Linked DNA regions of Homo sapiens: regions 2 and 3 are each linked to region 1. The links are contacts of gene promoters, found by promoter capture Hi-C in human tissues and cell types (Jung and others, 2019). All regions are on one chromosome and are shown on one strand. Each heading gives the region's core, a stretch centred on a gene start or on the middle of the fragment in contact. The rest is flanking DNA. Distances are from core to core; before and after follow the strand shown. Region 1 holds the start of GFRA1 (GDNF family receptor alpha 1). Region 2 overlaps GFRA1 (GDNF family receptor alpha 1). Region 3 has its middle 17 kb from the start of CCDC172.

The links. Contacts are between HindIII fragments. The study calls those that stand out against the background at their distance.
Region 2: a fragment that was not itself captured here is called in contact with the fragment with the promoter of GFRA1 in region 1 in 3 of the 25 tissues and cell types used here (H1 embryonic stem cells, liver and neural progenitor cells).
Region 3: a fragment that was not itself captured here is called in contact with the fragment with the promoter of GFRA1 in region 1 in 2 of the 25 tissues and cell types used here (mesendoderm cells and spleen).

What each region holds. Positions count from the first base shown.
Region 1 is chr10:116,271,351-116,275,742 of GRCh38, forward strand. It overlaps GFRA1 (GDNF family receptor alpha 1), which reads right to left and starts at 1,856. Exons shown (of 11, transcript NM_005264.8): 1 at 1,813-1,856; 2 at 640-925. The coding sequence starts at 679. LOC107984273 (a long non-coding RNA gene) reads left to right here and starts at 2,659. Exons shown (of 2, transcript XR_001747598.2): 1 at 2,659-4,392. RefSeq lists an enhancer at 2,021-2,858 and a silencer at 2,067-2,361. The HindIII fragment of the contact is 12,805 bases long and covers 1-4,392 here.
Region 2 is chr10:116,218,659-116,223,050 of GRCh38, forward strand. The region is part of intron 4 of GFRA1 (GDNF family receptor alpha 1); the gene reads right to left. Among named protein-coding and RNA genes, the nearest start is that of SNORD158, 26 kb to the left of the region's middle. The HindIII fragment of the contact is 5,209 bases long and covers 1-4,392 here.
Region 3 is chr10:116,305,627-116,310,018 of GRCh38, forward strand. No RefSeq gene overlaps it. Among named protein-coding and RNA genes, the nearest start is that of CCDC172, 17 kb to the right of the region's middle. The HindIII fragment of the contact is 4,206 bases long and covers 90-4,295 here.

The sequences.
Region 1 (4,392 bases), core at 606-3,105:
CGGGCTTCAAGGGTTTGCTCCAGAGCCTGCGCTGCCCACCGCGCACGTCGGCCCTCCGCCCCGGGGCATCCTGGCCTGAGCAACGACCCGGGCTCCCGGGCCACCCCCGGCTCCAGCCACCCGCTCCGCCCGGCTGAAACTCAGGCGCTTTCCGAGGAGAAGTGCGGCGGCGGACTGGGCACCGGGCGCGCGCTGGGCGCGGGGCAGGCCAGCCATGGTCAGCGGTCCGCCGGGCGGAGAGTGCCCAGAAGCTACTCGGGAAAAACTTTTCTCTTCCAAGTTTGCTCTCCCGGCCCCAATGCTCCCCAACTCCACCTGCCCGCCGCGGCTCCGCGAGCTCCCAGAGACTCTCTGGGGGTGCAGGGCCCTGGGCTGGAGGGCTTCTTAGTCCCCCGCCAAGTTGGGTCATTAAAAACCACAGGAAATCAAAACCAAGCCCGAAAAGCTTCAGGCAGCGCCGCGCCGCCACCGCCTCCCTAACCCGGGGATTCGCGATCCCATTCCCCAAAAAGACACTTCTTCCTTCCACATCCACCACACCCGCGCCCCAATTTTGGTGCGGAGGGCGGGGTGGGCTGCTGCAAGCGACCCTAGGAAAGACTCAGAGGGTAAGAAAGCCCGCGGCGGGCCTCGACTTACCCAAGAGCGGCAGCGCGAAGTACAGGGTCGCCAGGAACATGGTGCCGGCGCGGGGCTGGTCCCCGCCCCCCCAAAAAAATCCCGAGCCGCCGCTGGGTCTTGCCGAGGGAGCTCAGCGTGCAGCGATCCCCGGACAGCTGTGCTGCTCTGGCCGCCCAAAGTTCAGCTCCATCCAGTGAAAGAGGAAACTCCGGGTCTGGCAGCAGCCACCGCCGCCGGCGACTCAGCTCCGGGATGGCGAGGGCGGGAGGCGGTTCCGCTTTTAGGGGTTCAGGTCCGACCCAACCTGGAAGGGAGGGCGCGCTTTGAGATGAGAGCGGAGAGCGCCGGAGACTCCCCCCACAGAACCCTCTCCCCTCCCCCGTTCCCGCCTTTGGGGAATTTCCAACACCGGGGTGAGGACCCACCCCCACCCAGGTCGGGGTGCATGTGCGTGTTTTCCAGGGGCCGCTGACACGGGGATGGAGGTGAGGGCTGGAGAGGTCTGAAGAGGGTTCCTAAAGTCCAAGGGGGTGTCTGTTGGGTTCAACCCGAGACGCTGAACGCAAGCAAATAAATAAATAAACGGTACTTTCCGAGCGTCGCGAGCGGAGCCTGCAGCTGCCTGGAGTCCGAGCCCTCGGTGGCGGCGGCGGCAGCTCCCTAGCCAGCCCTGGCGCCGAAAGAGCCCCTTCTCCCGGGAAGTTGGCCTCCCCCTCCTCGCGTCAGCCAGCGAGCTCGCTCAGCCGCCGGCCCTCCCCACTCCGATCGCCAATCCCTAGCCCCAGTCGCCGCCCTCCTTCTCCCCGGGACTCGTCTCCCTCCAGAGGCCGCCAAGCCAGGGGGAACCGATGTCCCGACTGGGGCTGAAACCCGGTTCCTGCGCCCCTACCCCCTACCCGCCGCGCGTCCTCGGCTCCCTCCTGGGCGTCCGCTCCTCTCACACTCTCGCCCGGTGCCCAGGACTCGGGCGCTTCCGCACCCCAGCCCAGGGCGAGCGCGCCGGCCCGCAGTCCCGGCGTGCCCCGGCAGGTGCAGCCCGGCGCCACGAGCGCCCCCCGGGCCCTAAAGTTGGGAGACGCCAGCAAAAAGAAAGGGGTGGCCGGAGGAGGGGGGAAGAAGGAGTGGGGAAGAGGGACGGGAAGCGGCAATGGGTTCCCAAACAGAACGAAAAAAACTCCAAATGCCACCAACCTGGACTCAACCGACCGCGTCCAGCTGCGGCGAGGAGCCAGTTTGTTTATTTACTTATTTATTCTTTCAGGGCAATGGTGTCCCCGCCCCCTCCTTCCCTTTCCGGGCTCACTTTATCTGCGCTAGGAAAAGAAAAAAAAGAAAAAAAAATAGATGCGGTAATCTTCGAGAGCTCGAAGGGCCGAGTTGGGCCAGGACGATTTCCGAGCAGAGCCCTCGGCTCGGATGCTCGTTAGGGATGTTAGTGGTTATTGGAAGCGGCGCGGAGAATGGCGTGTTCCGAGGCCAGATTTCTTCTGGCCAGAGGACCCTCGGCCTGCTCCTGTTCCCGCCGCTCCGCAGCTCCAGCTCCCTCCTAAGCTCGCCCGCCAGGCAGCCGCAGCTGCACACGCCCGCTTGCGGTGGGACCCGCGGCCGGACCCGTACTCGCGCACAGGACACGCAGTGTTCTGCAGCCGGCCGCGGGTGCTGCCAGACACACACACTCTCTCTCTCTCTCTCTCTCTCTGTCTCTCTCTCTCTCTCTCTCTCTCACACACACACACAGACACACACACACACATACACGGGCACAAGGGCTCTTTCTTCTTAGGGCAATCGAGCCAGACCCTTCTTCGGAACACAAAGTTTTCCCCCACGTCACTAGTGGCTGTGATTCAAGACTTGGTGCTTTCAAGACACACTCAGACCCAGGACGCTGGAGCGGCGATCCTGGGATGCGCCCATCCGTTCGTCCACGCCAGCGCGTGCACACTCACACTCACACGCACACATGCACACGCAGTCTCTACCTCTCTCCTGGAGCTCCGACAAGGAGACAAAAGCGGAGCCCCCAGCCCACTGCATTTAAACCCGGCCAGACCTGGCTTTAGAAAATTTATAAGCTGACCTCCATTTTGGCTGTTTCGAGAGTAAATTAACAACAACAAAAAAAGCCTAACATGTACACAGCCCTTCGCCCCAACCCCTGGGACCGCTGGTTCCCAGTCGTGCTGCTCACCCCCCGCCCCCCACGCCTGACACACGCTCCCCTTCCCGCACGCCGGGGGGCGCCCGGGGCACCGAAGTCTACACTGGGTCGGGAGACCGGTCTAGGAGCCAGCCGGCAGTGCTCGGGATCTTTGCTGATGTCCAAGTTCATCTCTCGGGGAGACCGAGTTTGAATCAAATCTGCGTGCGCCCAGCTGTCAAATCTGCAAACCTATCACGCCAGACAATGGGCCGCCGCGGAGGACAGACAAGAATGGCTCATTTTGATCGAGGGGGGTAAATTGAAAAGGGCACGGGCTTTGGTTGAAGTTTGAGGCCCGGGTGTCAGGGCGGGGAGAAGAAGAGGAGGAAGGAGGAGGGTTGGGCCGCTCTCCATTCAACCACACATCAGCCAGGCGCGCCCCTCGGCTGCAGCGGCTGCTTGCAGGCGGGCTGCATATTGTGTGGAGTCGCCAAAGAGGGTCTGCGCCTCGGGGCGCGCCCCAAACCCGGGGGACATCCTACGGATCCGCACTTCTCTTGTGCTGTACGCGTGTTCCTCCAGGGTAAGTATGAGGAGACGGACGCCCTCATCAGACACCCCTCCTCCAACACACACACACCCATAGCCACATCATTCAGGGATACTCTAGTTCAGTGTATCAGTTTACACTTGGTTGTTGAGTAAACAAAGCAAACATATGTCACATTTTCGCGACAGATGGTTCAAACCAAGGGCTACTTAAGTTCTCTCTCTCTAACAGTCTAAGTTACAGGCTGAACTAAGCAGAAATGTAATTAAGTCATCTGATCAGTTTCTTCGACTTAAAATGTTTTCCCATATTTTCACAAACAAGCCAGATAAATCCTGGGGATGTGGTTTCAAGGAAAGGAGGGCTGAATATGAACTAAGACTTTGTGTGAAGACTCCGTTTCTCCCCGGTCACCCCAAACAGAAAATCCTCTTTCATTGTTCCATTTCGTAAGTGGAGGAGAATGTCTTCTTTTGGAAAATCAGTAATTGGAATTTCAATTTTCAATAGAGGGACTAGTGCTTACCGGTGCTGATTACTTGGGATAGTTGGATTACAATGAGGTTTAAGACATCATCCACATCTTTTGTAAATGTTCTTTGTTTAGAAATGACTTCATGTTACCCTATATATTCCACGGAATTCTTTTGAATCAAATTTTAACAGGGTGGGGGAAGGGTGAACTAAAAGCTCTCCCAGTGTAGAATATGGGACTTCTTTTTAAAATACAGATGATCTCCAACTTATGATGCTTCTACTTATATTTTTAGACTTTACCATGGTGCAAAAGCCATATACATTCAGTAGAAACTGTATTTTGACTATGGACCATACAATCATTCTATTTTTCACTGTCAGGTTAGTATTGAATAAGTTTCATGAGATAGTCAACACTTTACTATAAAATAGCTTTGTGTTAGATAATTTTCCCCAACTGCCGGCTAATGTAAGTGTTTTGAGCATGTTTAAGGTAGGCTAGGCTAGGCTGTGATGCTTGGTAGTTTAAGTGTATTAAATGCATTTTCAACCTATGATGTTCTCAACTTTTGATGAGTTTATCAGAGCATAAGCCTCATTG
Region 2 (4,392 bases), core at 1,288-3,787, 52 kb before region 1:
CCCTCCTGCTTCCTCCAGGCACAATAAGGTTGCTCAAACTGAACAGAGCCCCGGTGAGCCTTGGTAATAGCTTTAAGGACTAACCGGAAGGCCTCACTCCGCATCTCCAGCCTTCTAAGCCAAAAATGACAACCGCTCTTTAATGCTGCAAGATCTTTTATCTCACTCTGCCTTTTCTTCTCTACCTGGGTTTGGATGTAGGCCGGAGAAAGTTCTCTCGTTTTCATTGCTGCTGGCCTCCCTTCACCTTTTATCATATTAGAAATGAAGACCAATACTTTGCCTGTCACTGTTGTACCTCTGAAGGCACACAGTGCTCACTAAATGTCTTTTATTTGTGGATAAGAAAAAAATAAAAAAAAAAGCCTCAAAGAATCTTCCTGCTACATTTACTAGGGAATGTGCTACCAACATCAATCTTGGGCTGTGTGCTTATAACCCATCGGCCTGCGCTGACTTGGAAAAGCAATGCAAGAGACATGAGCTGGTGAGCCCCTATCATTTTTATGACATCCTATCCCTAGTATATCTCATTCCTAGCACAGAGGGATAAAGCTCTTAACTACTGAAAGAACATAAAAAAATAGATTTAGGAATAATACTTTTTATGATTGCATTCTGTATACTATGAAAGTTATGTCCGAGTCTGCTAGTACTTTATAGAGCTGATAAAGTAGAACAGTATGGCTTCCCAGCTCACAGTGTATTTTATATCCATTTAAAATGTTTTCTCTTAAATTGAATTACTTTTTGAGTAATTATAATAAGACTAATCTGGGCTTAATGAATTCATGTACAAATATTTTAGATTGCATTATTAAAATCTCTATGATATGAAACTATATTAAAATCGATCCCTCTAGCAACCAGTGTTTTCCTTTGAAAAGAGCCGCATACATGACCTTCTCGGAATTCTTTTGAATCAGCTGAGAAATCAGAAGAAGCCACATTAAGAGCCTAAACAAAAGAAGCTGACAAGTAACATTGCTTTAATTTTCCTAAACTTCTATCATTGGATATTAATTGGAGTATTAATTAGGAGTCACAAAAAGTATTTGTATTAAGCATCCATATATGCAAAGGGCTGAAGAGATGGTCCATCTTCCAGAAGAAATTACGTTATAGCTGTGATTAGCAATGACGTAACACTACTACTGGTAAAATACTAAAAGTGAGCCCCTGGATATCAAGCTTTACATTTTAAAAAGTCTCCAAACACAGTTGTCTAAACATCTGGATTCTAGTTTGCAGTGCAGGCAAAGCCATTCACCTTCCCTGGGATTCCGTTCTTCCATTTGCAAAATGATTTCTACTAGATGATCTCTAAGGTCCCTTCCAGTTCTAAAGCACGATGTTTTTAAGTTTAAAATTACACACATTGTATCAAATGGACTCTTACTGCACATAGCTTATTTGTAATCTTATGCATGCTAAATTACATTCACAAAAAAATTTCATTCTTTGCAATTCACATACATCCACAAACACATCCATAATACAGCCTGTGATTTCAAATTTATTCCAAGATATTATCTCAGTTTTAAAGTATTTTTCCCATTACAGATAAATTATAAGCCATCTGAAATCTTTAAGTTTCTATTACCTTTTTGAATCAAGTTTTAATCCCCCAACGCACCCACCCAACATACACTTCCTGAAAGATGCTTTTTCATCTCCATTTCCAAGTCAAATGATACATTTTATCACACATGTATTCCTCAGCCAGCTCTGTGTGATCCAGGTTTTAATCAGGTTGGTTACCCAGTTTCCAAAATTCAAACTGGATGTTTACAAATGTCCAGCAGAATAAATCTCTCTCTTTACCAGGTGATCATTATCAGGATGGACAACTTCAAAGTAAACAGAAGACAATGATAATGATCATTACTTGATGCTTGCCACAAATAACCATCAGGACAGCTCCCAGGAGTCAGAGACAATTCAAGCTTGAATTCTAAGAAGCTGTTCTAAAATCAAGCATTGTTGATCATCATGAAATGGGCCCAAGGCTTCTAGGAGGAGCTTTGATGATGTAATACACTCTAGCTTGACCTCAGTTTTAGGAGGTACAGGTTCTGGCCTGGCTCTGCTATAAATCACCTGAAGGAACTTAAACAAATCATTTAAGCACTTTGGGTTTCAAAGGAGCGATTGACAAGAAAATAGCTGCAATCTTTTCCAGTTCTAAAACTATAATGAACACTACCAGGACCTTTCATTAGAACTCCCTGCTATATGCTCCCAAATCAACTGTACATCTCCTTGGTGCCCTAACATACACCTGTTATTTTCTTTCTCTCTCTTTCTCTCTAACTAAGCTGAAAGGACCATGATGTCAGGGACATTCTGTCCACTGTAGTCCCAAAGCCCAGGGCAGAATATTAGAGCATAAAAGATACTTATTAATATTAATAATAACTAATATGCTTTCAGAGTTTTCTGTACATCAGGCACTATTTTAAATACTTTACATAGACTGCCTGAATCCTCTCAGTCACCCTAAAAGGTAGCTATTCTCATTATCTTCATTTTACAGATAAAGAAACACAGGCCCACAAAGGTTAACTAAAGCTGCCAAAGGTCAAAGGGAAGCAAGTGAGCTGGAATTCAACCCAAGCAGTCTGGCTTCAGAATCCAAACTCTTAACCACTTTGCTACACTGTCTCTCAATGAATACACCATTGATAGACGTGTGGAAGGAAGAAGGAACAAATAAATATGCCTCGTCCCTTCTAAGACACCCCAGAGAGAGAAGAGAATTCACGTTCATACTACCTTTTTTTAAAGACAGAGTCTCACTCTGTTGCCTAGGCTGGAGTGCAGGGGTGCGATCTCGGCTCACTGCAACCTCTCTCTCCCAGGTTCAAGCAATTCTCATGTCTCAGCCTCCCAAGTAGCTGGCATTACAGGCAGGTGCCACCACGGCCAGCTAATTTTTGTGATTTTAGCAGAGATGTGGTTTCACTGTGTTGGCCAGGCTGGTCTCAAACTCCTGACCTCAGGTGATCTGCCCACCCTGGCCTCTCAAAGTGCTGGGATTACAGGCGTGAATCACCGCACCTGGTCTGTGTTCATAATACTTTTAATATAATAATCCCCATGTTTCTAGATCCCCAGCCACATTTTTTTCTGTAACTTTTCTATCTGTGGATTTTGGGTCCAATTGCAGAGACTGCCTAGATACACATTAACTTTTTTAAAACTTTACAAATTCTCTTTCTAAAATATTGCAACTGTTTCAATAGGTTTATGGCAATTGTTAAGGTAAGGTAAGGACATGGGGAAAGGACGTCCTGCTGGATTAAAAAATGAGAATTCCAAGAAGAGAGTAAGGAAGGGGAGAACAATACAATACAAGGAAATATGACTGAGCTGCAAAGATCTATGCAGCTGCCCTGATCCAGGGCCATCCTACTTGGGTTTATGAAAAGGATGGTATGAGAGGCGGTAGAAGGGGAAAGAGCCAGGTGGGAGGTAATGCAGTGCAGGCAATGCACATATGGGTGCAGCAGCCAGAGGGCTTTCTTTTCTTCTTTATTTATTTATTTATTTATTTTGGAGATAAAGTCTTGCCCTGTCGCCCAGGCTGGAGTGCAGCAGCGTGATCTCGGCTCACTGCAACCTCCGTCTTCTAGGTTCAAGCTATTCTCCTGCCTCAGCCTCCAAAGTAGCTGAGATTACAGGTGCCCGCCACCACACCTGGCTAATTTTTGTATTTTTAGTAGAGAGGGGATTTTGCCATGCTGGCCAGGCTGGTCAGGAACTCCTGACCTCAGGTGATCCGCCCCCTTCAGGCTCCCAAAGTGCTGGGATTACAGGCGTGAACCACCGTTCCCAGTCATGGATTGCATTTTGATCCTGGCTCTGCCACTGGGAAAGCAATCTTTCTGCTCTAAGCCTCAACATCTCCGTTTGATTGAGTGGGGCAACAGTGATATGGGGCTGTTGTGAAGATTACAGGAAATCAAGCTAATAAAGACTTCACACAGCGCCTGACACATAGAAGGCACTTCACAGAAGCAGGCAATTAGACAGAGATTTATAAGAAATCAAGTTGCAGGATATCATCAAGATCAACCAAATTCTTTGGCATGCTGGCAACTGTGCTTGTCCTGATGAATAAAATATACAGTCAGACCTCCATATCCACAAGTTTTGCATCCACAGATTCAACCAACCACGGATTGAAAATATTTGAAAAAATAAAAAGTAAAATTAATAATACTGTAATAAAAATAATACAAACTAAAAACAATAAAGTATAACAACATTTACATAGTATTTACACTGTATCATGTATTATAGGTAACCTATAGATTATTTAAATTAACTCTATACAGAAGGATGTGCATAAGCAAGTAATTAAATGCAAATCCCACACCATTTTATATA
Region 3 (4,392 bases), core at 943-3,442, 35 kb after region 1:
ATATATTGCAAGAATTACCAAAATATGACACAGAGGCATGAAGTGAGCCTGTGGTGTTGGAAAAATGACACCAGTAGAATTGCTTAATGCAGGGTTGCCACAAACCTTCATTTTGTAAAAAGCACAATATCTGGGAAACCCAGTAAAGTGAAGTGCAGTACAACAACATATGCCTGACAAAAAATTGTTCCAGCTTTGGTATTAACCACAGAGCAGACGTTATCTCAAGATTGTAATCGGATACCATTGATCCCATCTTCACCATCTTTGTTCCTTCACCAAAATGTTGATATTAACATGATTTGGAGACTGTTATTATGACATTGATCCATGTTGGATACCATCCAAGGTCCAAGGAATGACTGCCAGTGCTTTTGACCCTCCTGTTATTTACAGAGAATAAAAGCGGGGGAGGCATTGGTCTCCCTTCCCTGAAAACCTTGGCCATTTGGCAGTACAAGAGTTTGATTGTTAAGAGAAAAGGAAGGAGTCCTAATATGATGTTAACACTTGGTCCAAAAGGCCATGATACAGACCTTTTCCCTACCCCATGGCAAAACTTCTGGTATCTGAAAATATACCTCAGATATAACACATCATCTTATGGGCATTAAGTTTGAGAATTAGCTAATGTTTGACATTGGCCTTGAGTTTTGTATTCTCTTTATAAGTAGAAGGAAGTCTAAGCTTCCTGCTGAACTGTAGTGTGGGTAACAGTGGTGGTGTCTATAGTTCAAAAATAAGTATGAACATTCCCTTTATGTTGCACATAAGAAGTAAGTACATAATTCAGTGTTGCATGTCCTTAAACTATATTTGCCCATTGGGCTTTTGACTTGGAATTTATTTATTACAAATGAGCTAACATATGAATTTAGGTAGAAACAGGAGTCATGACAATTTTCCGTAAGCTGCCTAGTAAATAAACGTTCTCGTACCTTATTTTTATAGCAAATTCTTCCAAAATATTCATAATTTATCTCATTTACTGTACAAGGAATAAGGTATGCATGATTAGAGATATAAAATTAAAATAAATACTTGGAAGGAAGCACTTAGGACTGTATACACTGTGGGCAGAATTCCCCATGACTTTGTTCACATACCTGCCATTTAAATTCACTCTTTGCTGGATATGTACACTAAAGGGATGTGTTGACTATGAGTTACTGAAACATCTGAATGGTTGCAAAATATGGATCCTTCTATTTATCTATCATTCCAAATGAACATTAAGCATAAAGGAAGTTATAGTTTAGAAAAAGAGCAGCATGAAGTTGGAATAATAGAATGAGTCACATTATGATTTGTATTCACAATGAAATTTGAGGAAAAATATTTGGCTGGAAAATCATAAAAGATATGTTCAATTTTACAAAATCAAGTAAGGATGACTATGCACAATGGGTAAAACCCGTGATTTCTATTCATAGTTAAATACTGGTTTCTTAGGTCAATTTTCCATGTGACATTACAATAGTCTTTGGCTATGATTACACTGAGTTCTCATCTTCCTTAAAATCGTGAAATTGAGGGAATTTTTCTAAATGGACAAAGATGCTATATATTTTTAGGCTTCTCATTTCAGAAAAGGCCCATTATAAAGTGGGGGCTTTTGAGTCTAGAGCCAGTTCTGTCACTTCTGCGTTTGAGCAAATTAGAACTTCAGTTTCCTGATTTGTAAAATAGTGACACGCACTCATGGTCTGCCCCTATGATGGCCAACAGTTTAGCAGAATGCTAGCCTAGACCTGAATCCCACATTTTGGAACTTTTGGCCAGAGGGAAGCTAAATGGCCTGTGACCAAGGCCTCAGTAGCAGCCTAAACAGAAATCCAGACCAGGGTTTGAAAAACAAATCGTATTTTGCAGAACATCATTGATCCAAACATGGTTAAGGATGCTTCATGAAATAAAGGGCTTTGTGGCCAAATAAATTTGGGAAGATCGTATTAAATGGAATGAATCAGGTTTCTTTATTGCAGGATGTCTCAGAACCTTTAATAAACCAATGTGCTTTGTGAGTCCCCAGGGGGACTAAAGAATGCAGTTTCCCAACTTGTTTTCACACGGAATCACTGTTTTTGTTTTTAAAGAAAATATGAAAATCTTGAGGAATATTAGGCGTTCTTTAAGCCACATCTAGGAAAATCTTTCTTTATGTAATTTTTCTGAAGTTCAGATATTTTAGCCTGGCACATTTTTCATAACAGGGTGGTAAAGAACCACAGTTATTCAATAAAATACTCTTTGGGAAGGGGATTTCTTAGAATTTTACATCCTTCACTGGAAGATCGTGGGGTTGTCTTCACTGATAACGAGTTAATTATGGCTTGTCAGTGATTTAACATTTTCCAAGCCGTAGAGATTGATGTAGACATAGAACAACATGGAACGTGGAAATTGGACTTAAGTGTGATCTTTTGGGAACCCAGTTGCACAATTTAGAGGTGATAAGAATTTCTTTTTTATGAATTAAAACAAAATTGTTAACTGCAGAGCAGAAGTCAGGTCAGACAGATCTACTGCTCCTGAGAATGTGCTGATTGTGGTTTGTATTTTACGGTAGCTGAAGAGTTTGAGTTGCTTGCTAATGACATCAAGCAACATTACATATATTATTAGTATCTTCAGATGCTGCAGTTCTATTTTGAAACATCTTTATGCTACATTTGTTCAAAGCATTGTCTTTCTGTGAAAAGACTTCACCTGTGAATTAATTTTTCATTATAAATAAACTATTGATAGTCTTAAAAAGTATTTCTACATATCTCTTTGTTGGAATTTGGAAGATATGCATTTTCTTTGAGTTCTATTTCTTCTGAAAACTAGTTGTTGACAAATACAACTGTCACAGTGATTGTAGGACTGAATGATCCTGTTGATTTCCTAATTTGTTGTTTGAATTGTAATGCCTCAAAATAAGAGCAGCCTCTTTATAACATTTTGTTATCTTATACTGTTTGGAAGATAAATTGTCTTAAGTGGAGTGGTTGCTGAAATTCTTTGTAGAACTGAAGTTTTAAATTCAAGGTCTATATTTGAGAAAATGTAGGTGGCAGGAATTTCTCTTTTTGAGGGAGGTGTTTCTAATCCAGGTAGCATAAAATTCTGGAGTTAAGTCTGATGTAAAAAAGATAAGATAAAGGAGATGAATTTCCAAGTCAAAAAGAGAGCTGGAATGCATATTAAAAAGAGTACAAGGAGTGCAAGTATTGCTGGAAGATACTGATCTCATTTCCTTTGGATATATACCCAGAAGTGGAATTGCTGGATCATATGGTAGTCCTATTTTTAATTTTTTGAGGATCCATCCATGCTGTTTTCCATAATGTCTGTACCGATTTACAATATGTTCTTTGCAGTATTATTCACAATATTCAAGACATGAAAACAACCTAAGTGTCCATCAACGGATGAATGGGTAAAGAATATACACAAATGGAATATTATTCAGTCTTAAAAAGGAGGAAATCTTACCATTTGTGTCAATATGCACGAATCTGAAGGACATTATGTTAAGTGAAATAAGCCAAAGGTAGAAAAACAAATAACACATGATCTTACTTATATATGGAATCTAAAAAAGTCAAAATCATAAAAACACAATAGAATGGTAGTTGCCAGTTGGCTGGGCATTTCAGAAATGGAAGATGATAGTCAAAGGGTACACAATTTCAGTTGTGCAGGATGAATAAATTCGGGAGATCTAATGTGCAGCATAGTGACTATAGTTAATAACACTGTATTACATACTTAATATTTGCTTTGAGGGTAGATCTTAAGTGTTCAGACCACACATATGCAAAAGGTGCCTATGGAAAGTGATGGATATGTCAATAAGCTTGATTGTGGTAATCACATCACATTATCAAATGTGAACATAATTCACCTTAAATATATACAATTTTTATTTGTCTAATATATGCCAATAAAGCTGGGGAAAAAGAGTGAAGGATTTAGGTTCAGATTCACCATGAAGCCTTGGGGAAATCATGCAGGCGGCTGTCCAGGTGTCAATTTCTTCATTTATAAAATGAAGAAAATAGACATCAGTAAACTGTGAGATAAAACATCTTTCATTAGAAATTTGGTATAGAAGGAAAGAACAAAAAGAAAAAATATGGACTCTAGGAACTATAGAATTCTTTCCACATGCTAAATGTGAAAAATCAGTAATACTGCTAGGACTCATATTTTCTTTATTCTTTGGTTACCATTTCACATGTAGATTAGCAATGGCTATTGCTTTGGGGGCAGAAAGCATCTGCAAATTTGACTCAATTTTCCACCTAGAATTTTGTATGTTGTTATATGCCTAGAATATGGGTATTTTTTTTTTTTTGCCATTTCTCATTTGAAAGGCTTTCACTTACTATGCCTATAAGCTAT